3 separate regions of the Homo sapiens genome follow, and all the other regions are linked to region 2. The links are contacts of gene promoters, found by promoter capture Hi-C in human tissues and cell types (Jung and others, 2019). All regions are on one chromosome and are shown on one strand. The core of a region is centred on a gene start or on the middle of the fragment in contact, and the rest is flanking DNA. Distances in the headings are between cores, read along the strand shown. Region 1 has its middle 64 kb from the start of ACVR1. Region 2 holds the start of ACVR1 (activin A receptor type 1). Region 3 overlaps ACVR1 (activin A receptor type 1).

The links. The method cuts DNA at HindIII sites, captures the fragments that hold promoters and counts their contacts. A contact is called where the count stands out against the background at its distance.
Region 1: a contact is called between a fragment that was not itself captured here and the fragment with the promoter of ACVR1 in region 2, in 2 of the 25 tissues and cell types used here (mesendoderm cells and thymus).
Region 3: a fragment that was not itself captured here is called in contact with the fragment with the promoter of ACVR1 in region 2 in 2 of the 25 tissues and cell types used here (IMR-90 fibroblasts and hippocampus).

Annotation. Positions count from the first base shown.
Region 1 is chr2:157,937,870-157,941,800 of GRCh38, forward strand. No RefSeq gene overlaps it. Among named protein-coding and RNA genes, the nearest start is that of ACVR1, 64 kb to the left of the region's middle. The HindIII fragment of the contact is 3,671 bases long and covers 1-3,113 here.
Region 2 is chr2:157,873,957-157,877,901 of GRCh38, forward strand. ACVR1 (activin A receptor type 1) reads right to left here and starts at 2,374. Exons shown (of 11, transcript NM_001111067.4): 1 at 1,840-2,374. LOC105373714 (a long non-coding RNA gene) reads left to right here and starts at 2,628. Exons shown (of 2, transcript XR_923518.3): 1 at 2,628-2,760. RefSeq lists silencers at 1,846-2,055, 2,146-2,195, 2,206-2,425, 2,486-2,725, 2,746-2,935 and an enhancer at 2,321-2,615. The HindIII fragment of the contact is 2,058 bases long and covers 1,498-3,555 here.
Region 3 is chr2:157,828,965-157,832,862 of GRCh38, forward strand. All of the region lies in intron 1 of ACVR1 (activin A receptor type 1), which reads right to left. Among named protein-coding and RNA genes, the nearest start is that of ACVR1, 45 kb to the right of the region's middle. RefSeq lists an enhancer at 2,071-2,572. The HindIII fragment of the contact is 9,856 bases long and covers 1-3,898 here.

The DNA of each region.
Region 1 (3,931 bases), core at 28-2,527, 63 kb after region 2:
TGCTGGCATGGATGAGTTCTGGTGAGGACACACTCTTGGCTTGCAGAAAGCTGTCATCTTGCTGTGTCCTCATGTGGCAGAGAGAGCGCTCTGGTAACTTTTTCTTCTTTTTATAAAGGCATTAATCCCATCAAGAGGACTCTTCTCTGATGACCTTATCTAAACCGAATTATCTCCCAAGGGCCTTATCTCCATATACCATCACATTGGGGGGTTAGGGTTTCAACATGTGAATTTTGGGAGGACACAATTTAATCCACAGTACTGGCCTAGCAAAAACATCAGCTGTCTACTACATGGCTAAAGTAGTCTGCATCTTATCAGAGAGTTCCAAAGGTCACAGACTGAAAGATATATTATAGTTTCACTATCAGCTTGCTTAGTGACTTGGGGAACTTAACGTCACAATTCTATCTCTTCCTTCTTTCACGCTTGCAAAATAGTGTTTGAGACACATACTTTTTTTTTTTTTTTTGAGTCAGAGTCTCGCTCTGTCACCCAGACTGGAGTGCAGTGGCATGATCTAGGCTGACTGCAACCTCTGCCTTCCAGGTTCCAGCGATTCTCCTGTCTCAGCCTGCCAAGTAGCTGGGATTACAGGCATGTGCCACCACACCCAGCTAATTTTTGTATTTTTAGTAAAGACGGGGTTTCGGCATGTTGGCCAGGCTGGTCTCAAACCCCTGACCTCAGGTGATCCACCCGCCTCGGCCTCCCAAAGTGTTAGGACTACAGGTTTGAGCCACTGCACCCGACTCCTCACTCTTTTTTCATGTCTGAACCTGCTCCCCTGGCCCAGGGTGGGCATTTGTCCCAGGCAAAGCCAATGATTGTGGCTCTGTCCCACCAGGGTGAGATTAAGTCTGCTTGGAATTCAAACTCTGAGTGGAAACCCACAGAGGTGAAAGGTCATCTAGATAGTTATCCAATGATAACTGAGAAAAGCACCAAGAACTGAGTTCTTCACACTTGAACTGCTGTTATTTCTGTCCTTACCAACCCTGTTTTTGCAGCTCTCCTGATTTGTGAGCCAGCCCAGAGGCCTTCCAATTAATCTTGTTTGCTTGTGGTGGATATAATCAAAGAGCCTTAGTGAGTCAAGCTACCTCAAAAGTTTGCTTTGAAATTAAATAGGACAATACATGAGAGGCAATTAGCACATTACAAGGGATATAATAAATGCTCAAGAAACGTTAGCTAGTATTATTACTACAATTTGACTTCCTACTTGGATTCTACATGGTTACACAAATAAATCCCTACTTATTACTGAGAAGTCAGCTATAGGGAGTTGCTCATGTGAGAAGCAGACTTCCTGTGAACTGAAGCCTACACATCAGTGTCGACTCTTATGCCTTTAGTCAGGGTAAGAATCAAATGCAGAAATTCTACTCAATAGGTTGAGTTGGGGAGGCAGAGCTCGACTTTGAAGCCACCAATTATTTTCTCTAATTGGTGTCTTAATACATACCATAGCTCTCTTCTGATTGACAGATACACGAAACTGCTATTGTTTCTCAATTTTGGGTTCTCTAGAAGCAGACTGCTCTTTGAAAAACCAGAATTCCCAACATTAACTTCATGTGTGTTGCATGTTTTAATTCAGTCCATCTGCAGTAGGCTGAATGGCTCCCAAGCATGTCAAGTTGCAACCTCTGGGACCTGTAAGTGTTAATTGATAAGGATAAAGAGTTTCTATAGATTTGATTAAGTTAAGGATCTTGGGATGGGGAGATTATCCAAATTACATTTACGGTGGACCTTAAATGGAATCTCAAGGGCCTTTATAGGAGGGAGGGAGAGGGAAGTTTTATCTACACAGAGAGATGATGTGAAGTCATAGGAGAATTGGGGTGACATGGCCACAAGTCAAGGAATACTGCCAGCCACCAGAAACTGGAAGAGTCAAGGCCCCTAGAGCCTTTAGGGGGAGCATGTTCCTGCCAACACCCTGATTTCTGCCTTATGAATCCAATTTTGGAATTCTGACCTCCAGAACTGTGAGAGAATAAATTCCTGTTGTTTGAAACCACCAGGTCTGTGGTAATTTGTTACTATAGTAGCTACAGAAAACCAATATGTGATTCTAAATACCTTTGTCAAATGTATTGAAAATCTGTCTAATCAATTGTTTTAACAGACAGAAACTTAACTTTATTTATATAGATTATTTTGCCCTTTCCTACCATGCCGATGTTCCAAAAAGCTGTGAAGAGCTGTTTCTGCACAGATACACCTCCTCCTGTGGTGTCACTCATGACTGTCCCTAGTTGAATCATCCTTCTGCAATGTACCCAGGTTCATATGCCTCTCATGTGGTTCCCATGGTCCCTGGATCAGAGCTGCAATCCCCAAGCCCTTGGGCCCTTTCTGAAGGAGGAATGAAAGAGTATGGCTGACTACGGACAGTAAGCCCCCTTCTCCTCATTCCCACCTTCTCCAGGGGCAAGGAAATGACTCATCGCACAAGCTCTCAATGCCCATCACCCATTCATTCTCTCCTCTTGGGTTGGGTGAAGTGAGGTCAAACTTCTTAGGAGAGAATAAAGGACATGGCTAAAGTTTTCTTCCCTCTTCCAGTTCTCTTCCCCTACGTTGATTGATCCTTTTACTTTTCCTAATACTTTAAAATGTTATACAAATATTTGCAAAAAATATTTAGACATGGAAGAATGTATAGAAAATTGTGCAAATTTCTTTCTCCAAAGCTTTTCATTGTACTCTCCTTCATGTATTTAACCAGTATTAAAAGTTTGATATTTTCTTCTAGAGATTTCTTTAAATTCATATTCACTTCATTGGATGTACATGCATGTGTGTACACTTGTACACATACAGACAGAGAGGGCTTTTTTCTTAATTAGTAATAATAATGGCAAGAAAGGAAATGCAGAATTAAAGCAATTCTGTTATGCTAAGGTTAGGGCCAAGATTAGGAAAAACAGGACACTGTCCCTTGAGCTGGGGAGATTTGGGTGAATGTCATTTAAGATTTTGAACCCCTAGGCTTCTTTGAATTCTCCTGGTCTGCAGAAGTGACCATCCCTCTCCAAGAGTTAGCACATCCTTCTTGCTTGAAGACAATGGAGAGGGCTTTTCCTGTAGGCACATGATTTGCCTCCTGATTTGCTCCCATTTCCCTTCCTGGCCACTAGATCTATAACCAGGGTTAAGTTCCAACGTAATACAGCTTCAGATTTGCTGGGCTTGATAAGGATGAAAAGAAGCTCTACCCAAAGGAATTGCAAGACCTAAACAGAATGTATTGGTTGGCATTATTGGCACTGGATTCTGAGGGTGCACCATTAAGCAATCTGGAACAATATATTGGATAGGAGAGACTTTATTTATTTGGGGCACTCTCCAAAAATACAAGATTCAATACTCTGTCAAGGATCTGAGGAGACGGTAGCAACTCACTACTAGTATAGATCCCAGAAGCATGCAGAAAATAACAAACCATACTAAAGTTGAAATGCCAGAATTGCTATGGTAGGCAGTGGAGGAAAGGATTAAAAGCTTAAGGAAATGGGCATGCTGAAATAGGCATTAAATATCTATGTAATGCTGAAAGACTCACCAGATGATTATGTACCATGAGAGGGACTATTGTGCACACCATTAGCAAGGCCATAGTAATGCACAGGTGAGAGGGGTACCAGCATCACTAAAATGTTTAGTGCTGGGATTTCTTTATTAGACAGGGTTAATATTAGGAGAGGCCATTACAGAGTAGACTCAATAAAAGCAGTGGGGATGTTAGGATTCCAAAACAATAGAGGGTGTGTTATGGTAGGAACTGCCAGAAGCCACATTGACATAATTATCTAAATGAGTAGCAGACTCATAGGGTTATAACCAAAAGGGCCTGACCGTCAGAGAGTAAAGGAGATGGTTGGAATACAGTATCCATAGGGGCAAAATATATTGA
Region 2 (3,945 bases), core at 1,124-3,623:
CAAACTTGCTAGAATTCAAATGATCACTCTCTTCCAAGGTACAAAAGTTGTAAGACTACTATCTAAATCAAGTTTTATTTAAAACCACCCTCTCCATTTCAAGTAAAACTCAACAACACAGCTGGAAAAGGAGGGCATGAACCCAATCTATAATCATCCCAATCCTTAGTCTTTGTCACCTATCCAGAATTTATCTATCCATCATTCACCACCTGTGAGTACCTGCATAAGGGGTAATAGCAGAAATGCTATTATCCAACACCCAGTTACATCAACTTAAGGCCTAGATTTCAGCTTCAAAAGAATTCCATTTTTTAAAATTCCAAGACAGAAAATAAAAACAAGTGAATCATAAAATAAGTGATCGAGGTCCCATCCAGGCATAAGATAACCTCCTGACCCCTATGTCCCCATCAGTGAAATGGATGAGGCCCATATTTCAAACTTAAGCAGTCTGCACACTATGAAGCTGCATGGCGAGGCCGATGTCTGAGGTCAGCACAAGTCTAGTGTCTGCTGGCTGCCCAAGCCTGGGCCCCTGGCCAGCAACCCACCTCCAGAGACAAGTGCCAGGACATACTATAGTGTTTCCATTTAAGGCCCGCCACTTGGATCAGCCCATCTCTGAAATTTCTTAACACCACCTTTCCAGGAAGAATTTTTTTGGGGAAAAGGGAGGTGGTGTCTATTTTTTGCCACCGCCTTCCCTTGGGCTGTCAGAGCAATCTGCATCTCTGGGACAGGATTCTTTAAAACCACTGGGTTATGTCTCAATTCATGGGCCTCTTCTCAAAAATATGTAAAAACATGTATGGAACGGGCCCCTTTGCCCATCATCTAACTCTTATCATACATCCCTCAAAAAAGAAAGAAAAGCCCAATAAAATTGACAAGTCCATTGTATTACCTTGCTGCCTCTCTCCAAAAGCCAAATTCATGACAACTTTTTAACCAAGACTTTTCTTCTGTTACTAAGTGGAACGTTTTCTTCTCTAAGTAGCTTTTCTCCCATGCAAGCAGCGTTCAAATCTCCAGGGGAAAGGAGGGGTGGGGAGGGGGTGGGAGACTATCTGGCACAAACTGGACAGAGCCGAGCCAGTCTAGAACCCGACGGAAGTTACTGAATCCAGCGGCCCCAGAGGCCCACATCTCTTCTTAGTGCGCCCGAGGTTCTAGCCTCACTGTTTTGGTTACAGTGTTGAAGGAAGGGTTTTAAACTTGGCAAAGTACCGTGCAACATCTGTAACCACATTTGCCTTCTGGGGATCGGAAGATGAATCCCACATTCCTGGCTTTGAAGCTTTTTGAAACTGCAGCTAGGAAGAACCGAGGGAGGGAGGGAGTTGAGCAGAGTTTATTGGCTGTCTCTCCAGCAGAAAATTCCTCTTGGAAGAGATGGATATTTTGAGGGTGGGGGAAATTCGCCTATCTATCTCCTTACTCTCTACAAGCTCAGCTAGGAAGGTAAGCCCCGTGGCCCCGCGGCCAGATCGATTTACAAGTCAGAGTCGCACACCCTGAAGGAGTTCACAACACACACACACACACACACGCACTCACACACACCCCAATACAAACCTGAGACCCCCGCTCCACGCCTCTGCCCCCCCACCCCCCATATCCCACCAGCAGTTCAGGCCCAAAGCAAGACAGTTTTGTTCCGCGGCTGCTTCCCCCACGGAGAGGGGATCAAGCTTGGGGGAGAAAGGAATGAAAGCGAGGGGGAGGCACCGCAGACGCCCACCCTGCCACCCCCGATCCCTGCCTCTTCTCCCGCTAGGCTACCTCCTCCCTCAGTCCTCCCGGCTCCAGCAGGCGCGGCCGGCGACCTGCGCTCACCTCGGGTCCCGCCGCGGCCGGGGGCTGAGCCGGGGGAGGCGGAGTGCGAGGCAGCCGGGCGCTGCAGGTCGGCGCGGCGCGGGGCGGCGCGGGGCGGGGCGGGGCGGTGCAGCCGGCGAGGGAGCCCGGAACTCTGCGGGGCCGGGAGCCGGGGGCCGAGGGCCGGCCCAGAGCGGCGGCGGCTGCGGTGGCTGCAGCGGAGCGGTGCGTGGGGCCGGGAGCTTCCCGGCCCTGGGGCCGGCGCGGCTGGCCGAGGAGCAGGCTGGCAGCGGCAGCGGCGGCAGCGGCAGCCACCCGGGGGAAAGAGCCGGGGGAGGGCGGGGAGGCGGGGTGAAGAGGAGGAGGAAGGGGAGGAGGGCGGGCAGAATAAACTTCCCGAGGCGCAGAGGCTCGGGCTGGGAGCACGACCGCGGGCGGGGCGGGCGGACCAGCTGGGCTTGCCCCCGGGGGCGGCGGGGGAGACCGTCACAGAGAGTAGAAAAGTTCCCCCTGCGCCGAGGGGGAGGCTGCGGCGGCGGCGGCGGCTGCAAAGAGCAGGAGCCGGAGCGGGAGGAGCGGGAGGAGGAGGAGGAGGAAGTGGCTGCGGAGCGCTCGGCCAATGAGTGTCTGGAGCTGTGATTAACCAGGCAGCAACACATCATTTCCTCCCGGCGCGGATCCAGGGAGCCGGGAGGGGAGAGAGGAGGCGGCGGGGCGGGGCCGTCCCCGCGCCCCCTGCAGGCGCCCGGCCGAGGGCGAGCCCGCCGAGCCCCGCCGAGCCTGACCGCGCCGCCCCCGGCGCGCCTGGCGCTGTCTGGCCGGTCGCTTGGCCCGGGTGGAAGCTATGAGCGCGCCGCCAGCGGGGCTCCTCGGAGGCGGCGGGGCAGGCCCGAGCTGGGCTCCTGTGGCCGGGGTGGGAGGAGAAGAGGCCGCGCGGCACGGGTGAGTGCCCAGGTAGGCGCGGGCGGGGCCGTCTGGACAGCTCCCGAGGGCGCGCGGGGCAGGCGGGCGGACGGGCGGGCATCCCGGGCCCGGCGACTGCGGGCGGCCACCTACTCGAGCCCTGCATGTCAGACTTGGGCTGGATTCTCAGAGAGAAGCCTTAGCATTCTCATCCAGGCCATCTCTGACCTGCCTTCAGATCCCCTTCCACTTTGCTCATTTCCTTGCAAGGTCTAGGGTTATGACAGAGCTTGCCATGTTCGCCTTTGGCTTCCTTAGTAACAGAAATAAGCATGGAGGGGCTTCTGCAGTGATCTAGCCCTGTCCTAGGCGCCATGGGAGCTTACAGTGGAAATGCAGGAACATTCTCCGCTGCAGAGAGTCTGATAACCTCGGTCCTTAGATACACAAAAACACCCCAGTGTGCTAATATTACCCAGAGCATCAAAAAGGCATGCAAGGATCAAATTTTGCATGGTTCCTGCTGAGTGTAAAGGAAAGCACTAAGCCATTTTCTCTGCCCTCTAGAAGCTTATAATGTACAGTCCTATCACAAAGCAGAATAAAAACATGAAACCTATAAATGGGAATGCCATAAAGTATTTTTATCTCTACAGGTTCATTCATGCAGAGGGCATTTATTGGGTGACTGCAGTACTGCAAAAGGTTGCAAAGGAAATGGAAGATCTGGTCCCTGCAGGTTGGGAGTTTACAATCTAATTAGAAATACAAGGCATATATACGTGAAAAAACTAGAATCCCCAGCTGTAAGCAAAAGGATGGAGTAGGTGGGAGCATTTTTTTCATAAAGAGAGCTTTGTACCTGTATGATTGGTGAGGAGCAGGAGAGGCAAGTTCAGTACCAATCAAGGCAAGAGCACCTATATGTATCCCTGCTCTATAGAATGATGTAACAGGGCCCTCATTGTCACTTGGCTGAAGTGTCAGCTCTGCCACTTACAAACTGTTTTGAACTGGGGCACATTTTTAACCTAAGAAGGGAATACAGGTTGTCTCGTGAGGTGGTTGTGCAGTTCAAATGAGATTACAAACGTGAAAGCTTGTGAAGCTCAATGATGTACATTCATGGAGTCCTCATTGTACAAACTGGCCCTTCTTGGTAACCTTTAGAGTTCCCTCCCAGGCTGTAAGCTGCAAGAGGGCAGGGACCAGGTCTGATTGTAT
Region 3 (3,898 bases), core at 1,133-3,632, 45 kb before region 2:
CCCATGTTGGCCAGGCTGGTCTCGAACTCCTGACCTCAAGTGATCCACCTGCCTCAGCCTCCCAAAGTGCTGGGATTACAGGCGTGAGCCACTGTGTCTGACTGAGGTTTGCTTTTAATTTAATTTGCTCACCAATCATTTGCTCTCCAATTGAAGGATAACTGAGTACGAAAATGTACAAACAGAAGTACAGTAACAGTGGGTCTACCAAGAACAGTCTCTCAAGGGAGCAAAAGAATACATCCAGGTTCCCAAGACTGAAAGCATCCTGTCCATGTCACCCACCATCCCAAATCTACTAATCTTTCTTTATGTCCTATCTTCTGCAATGGAACCACTGAAGAATCTTGTAGACAAAGCCAGAAACCAAGTTTGCCTTACAAACCCCATCGCTGCCTACAACCCAGCCCAGGACCTCTCCCACCAGCAGTGGCCCAACTGACTCCTTCAAGGTCTCCTCTACATCCCTGCCATGAGTGTAGTAAATTGTTCATTGAGTAACGCTCACTAGTGCCTCTCCTCTGCTTAAAGCCATCAATGGTTCTCCTAGCTGGTGTAGATTTCTTGATTTTCATGATCTGGCCCCAGACATCTCCAACATCATCGAGTTATCATCTCATAGGTACCCTCACCCTAATTGTATCTTACAGCTCCCTGGGGACACCATGACCATGTTCACCTTCTGCCTTTGCACTTGTCTGCCTGAAATGTCTTTTTTCATCTGGCAAACTCCTATGCTTCAGGATCAGCCCCAGCATCACCTCCCAAAGCCCCCATGTCTACATCCTGTCTGAAATATTAACACATGCCCCCTCATCTGTTTTTCCCAAACTTAACTATTGTGGCCCTTAAAAGTGCATTTTAATTTTTAAATTTTACTATTTCCCTGGTGAGTCTGTGGACTCTTCAAAGTAAGAGTATTTTTCACCTATGAAACATCAAGGATAGTCATAAACAATAGGCCAAGAGGCTGGGCGCAGTGGCTCACGCCTGTAATCCCAACACTCTGTCTGGGAAGCCAAGGCAGGTGGATCACCTGAAGTCAGGAGTTCGAGACCAGCCTGGCCAACATGGTGAAATGCCATCTGTACTAAAAATACAAAAATTAGCCAGGTGTGGTAGCAGGCTCCTGTAATCCCAGCTACTTGGGAGGCTGAGGCAGGAGAATTGCTTGAACCCAGGAGGCGGAGGTTTCAGTGAGCCGAGATCATGCCATTGCACTCCAGCCTAGGTGACAAGAGCAAACTCCGTCTCAAAATAAAATTAAATAAAAGGCCCTTCATAAATGTTGATAATAAATGATGTACCCTGATAATGGATTCAAAGCAGAAAAGATACCATCCAAGAGAAATATGAACAATTTAAAAAATGAAAAAGAAATAATAATGCTAATGGAAAAAAGGAGGTAGACCTACTGGAACCCATTTTCAGTGTTGTCATGGCTTTTAACTCAAACTAAAAAACAAAACAAACTTCCCCAAACCCTAAGTTATAGACAAAGAGAACTACCAACGTTTCTGATTTCATACAAAAAGACAATGTGTAAACTAAGTGTATATACTCAACCACAGCTTCCTTGTGACTTACATTTGAAAACAAAGTATTCCCTACTCTAACATTTTAGGACATAATCTTTTTTCTAAATTTTATATACACACAGAGAGAGAAAACAAAACTTGAAATACTTATATACCATGCTAACAATGTAATATTACTGGAAACTAAATTGTTATCAATAAAATGTAAGAAGGGAGATGCTTTGTTTCACCAAAAAAAAAAAAAAAAAATGTAATTTTTTCCCAGAGAATTATTCCCAAGATGGTCACTTGGACTCATGCCCCCATACAATTCCCTTGGCTAAGCTCTCACTGGCTGGCCTGCTTCCAGATGTTGTCAGTCAAGGTGACTGAGGGAGCTCAAGTAGGAAAAAGAAGTGTTCTTCCTCTCACCATGACAATGTTACATTTGCTACATTTTTTGTCTTAGAAACAGGGTCTCACTCTGTTGCTCAAGTTGGAGTGGAGTGGCAGAAACATAACTCACTGTAGCCTTGAATTCCTGGTCTCAAACAATTCTCCCACCTTAGCCTCCCAAAGCACTAGGATTACAGGAATGAGACACCACACCTGGCCTTTACCTTCTTAAAGGTTTTTCCCCACCCCACTACCCATTTTCTCAGCCCCAGACTGTTTATATCACACTGGGAAGAAAAGACAAATAACACACATTGCTATATAATGTTATTCAATTTACTTTAATAAGCATGAAAAAGGTAACAGAAAGGAGGCAATGGCCAAAGACAAATGTTAAAGAAAAGAGTAGGAAGATCCAAGGAATAATAAATGGCTGTTATTAGCATTTGCTGGCTGGGATCACTTTTACACATGAAATTGCTTAATGCGTGAGTCATCTGAACTCATGACTGCACTGAATCATTTCATGTGTTCAAGCAAACCTGCAATGAAAATAACCCAGAAGTCTTGAGATGCCAATGACTCTCCAATCAAAATAATGAGGGTGGCAGATCTACCCGAGAAAAATCAAAAAACAAATAGGTGCTTAGAAAACAATTTTAAATCCTATTGTTTTCATAAAACAAGTGGGCAGAGTAAAGTGAGATTTTTTAGTTTACCAAAATTGGGACTGGGTTAAAATTTCAAAAGTTGAGAATTCACTGTTCTGGAGGATTCTGTGAGAGTCAACACTGGTGTCTACTCTGTGCCCACTGCAGGGTTGGGCCAGGAACTGGTTTCTACCCTCACTCAGTTCACAGGATGATCAGGAGAGCCCAATCCTTGGCTTCTACTCCAATAATGTTAGCTTTAAAATTAGTCTTACATGCTAATAGTTTCTCTGTCAGGGTGGTGAAAATGTTCTAACATTAGATAGTGGTGTCAGTTGAACAGTTCTGTGGCTACACTAAAAACCACTGAATAGTACATTATAAAAGGGTGAATGTTTTTGGTATATGAACTAACTCAATAAAACTGTTATTTTAAAAATCAGTTTGAAAGGTCTTACAGCCTTTTTTGTACAACTTAGACCTCGAGTACATGCTGGGCTGTACTCCTGGACCTAGCTTCACCACCTGGACACAGCTTGTCTCCCAGTTAATTTTTGTGAAAAGAGCAAAAGCTCTGGAATCGCACAGCTTGAGGAATGAACCTAGGCATGTTACTTCCCAGGCATTGGTATCTTAAGCACATTACTCTCTGCCTGTGTCCCATCTATAAAACAGGCAGACACCACCCCCCAATCAGATGAGAACTACTACTGAGAATCTGCAAATCACCGCCAACTTCAGACTAACATTAGTAAATGGCAGATAATTAAAATGAAATTAAATAATTAAAATGAAACAGCCTCTACCAAAGGACACGTGAGGTATCAGAAGAAACTAACAGGAAAGACAAAAACGAGAAAGGATGATGGCAAGTCAAGAGTCAGGACTGAGGCCAGCCTACCTGGAATCCTCTTTGGGATTCCAGTGATGCTTTGCAGTAGGGGTGATATGGGGTGGGAAGATGGGGATGTGTCTGCTCCCAGAATTATGTGCTATTATCAAGATGACCTTGTCTATGATACATAAATCTCTGGACTCTTTAATGCAAGACCTTTTATATGAGTAACCACAAAACAGAGACATTTTCTATACTTTACTCTCCTCAAGTGTCACTCAGCATTCAGTCCACTAATGGAATTTTAGCCTCTTGATTTGGGTTACTATTAATTAGAACACATAGCTTTGCATCAGAATTCATTTTTTATAGATTAATTCTATAACATAAAACATGCCTGAATTTGACTGTTAGGAGTCTTTTCTTCACAAGCCTCAAGATTCCACACCTGTGATTAATTTACATAAGCACAGGTTGAAACATCAGCTTTTTGATCATTT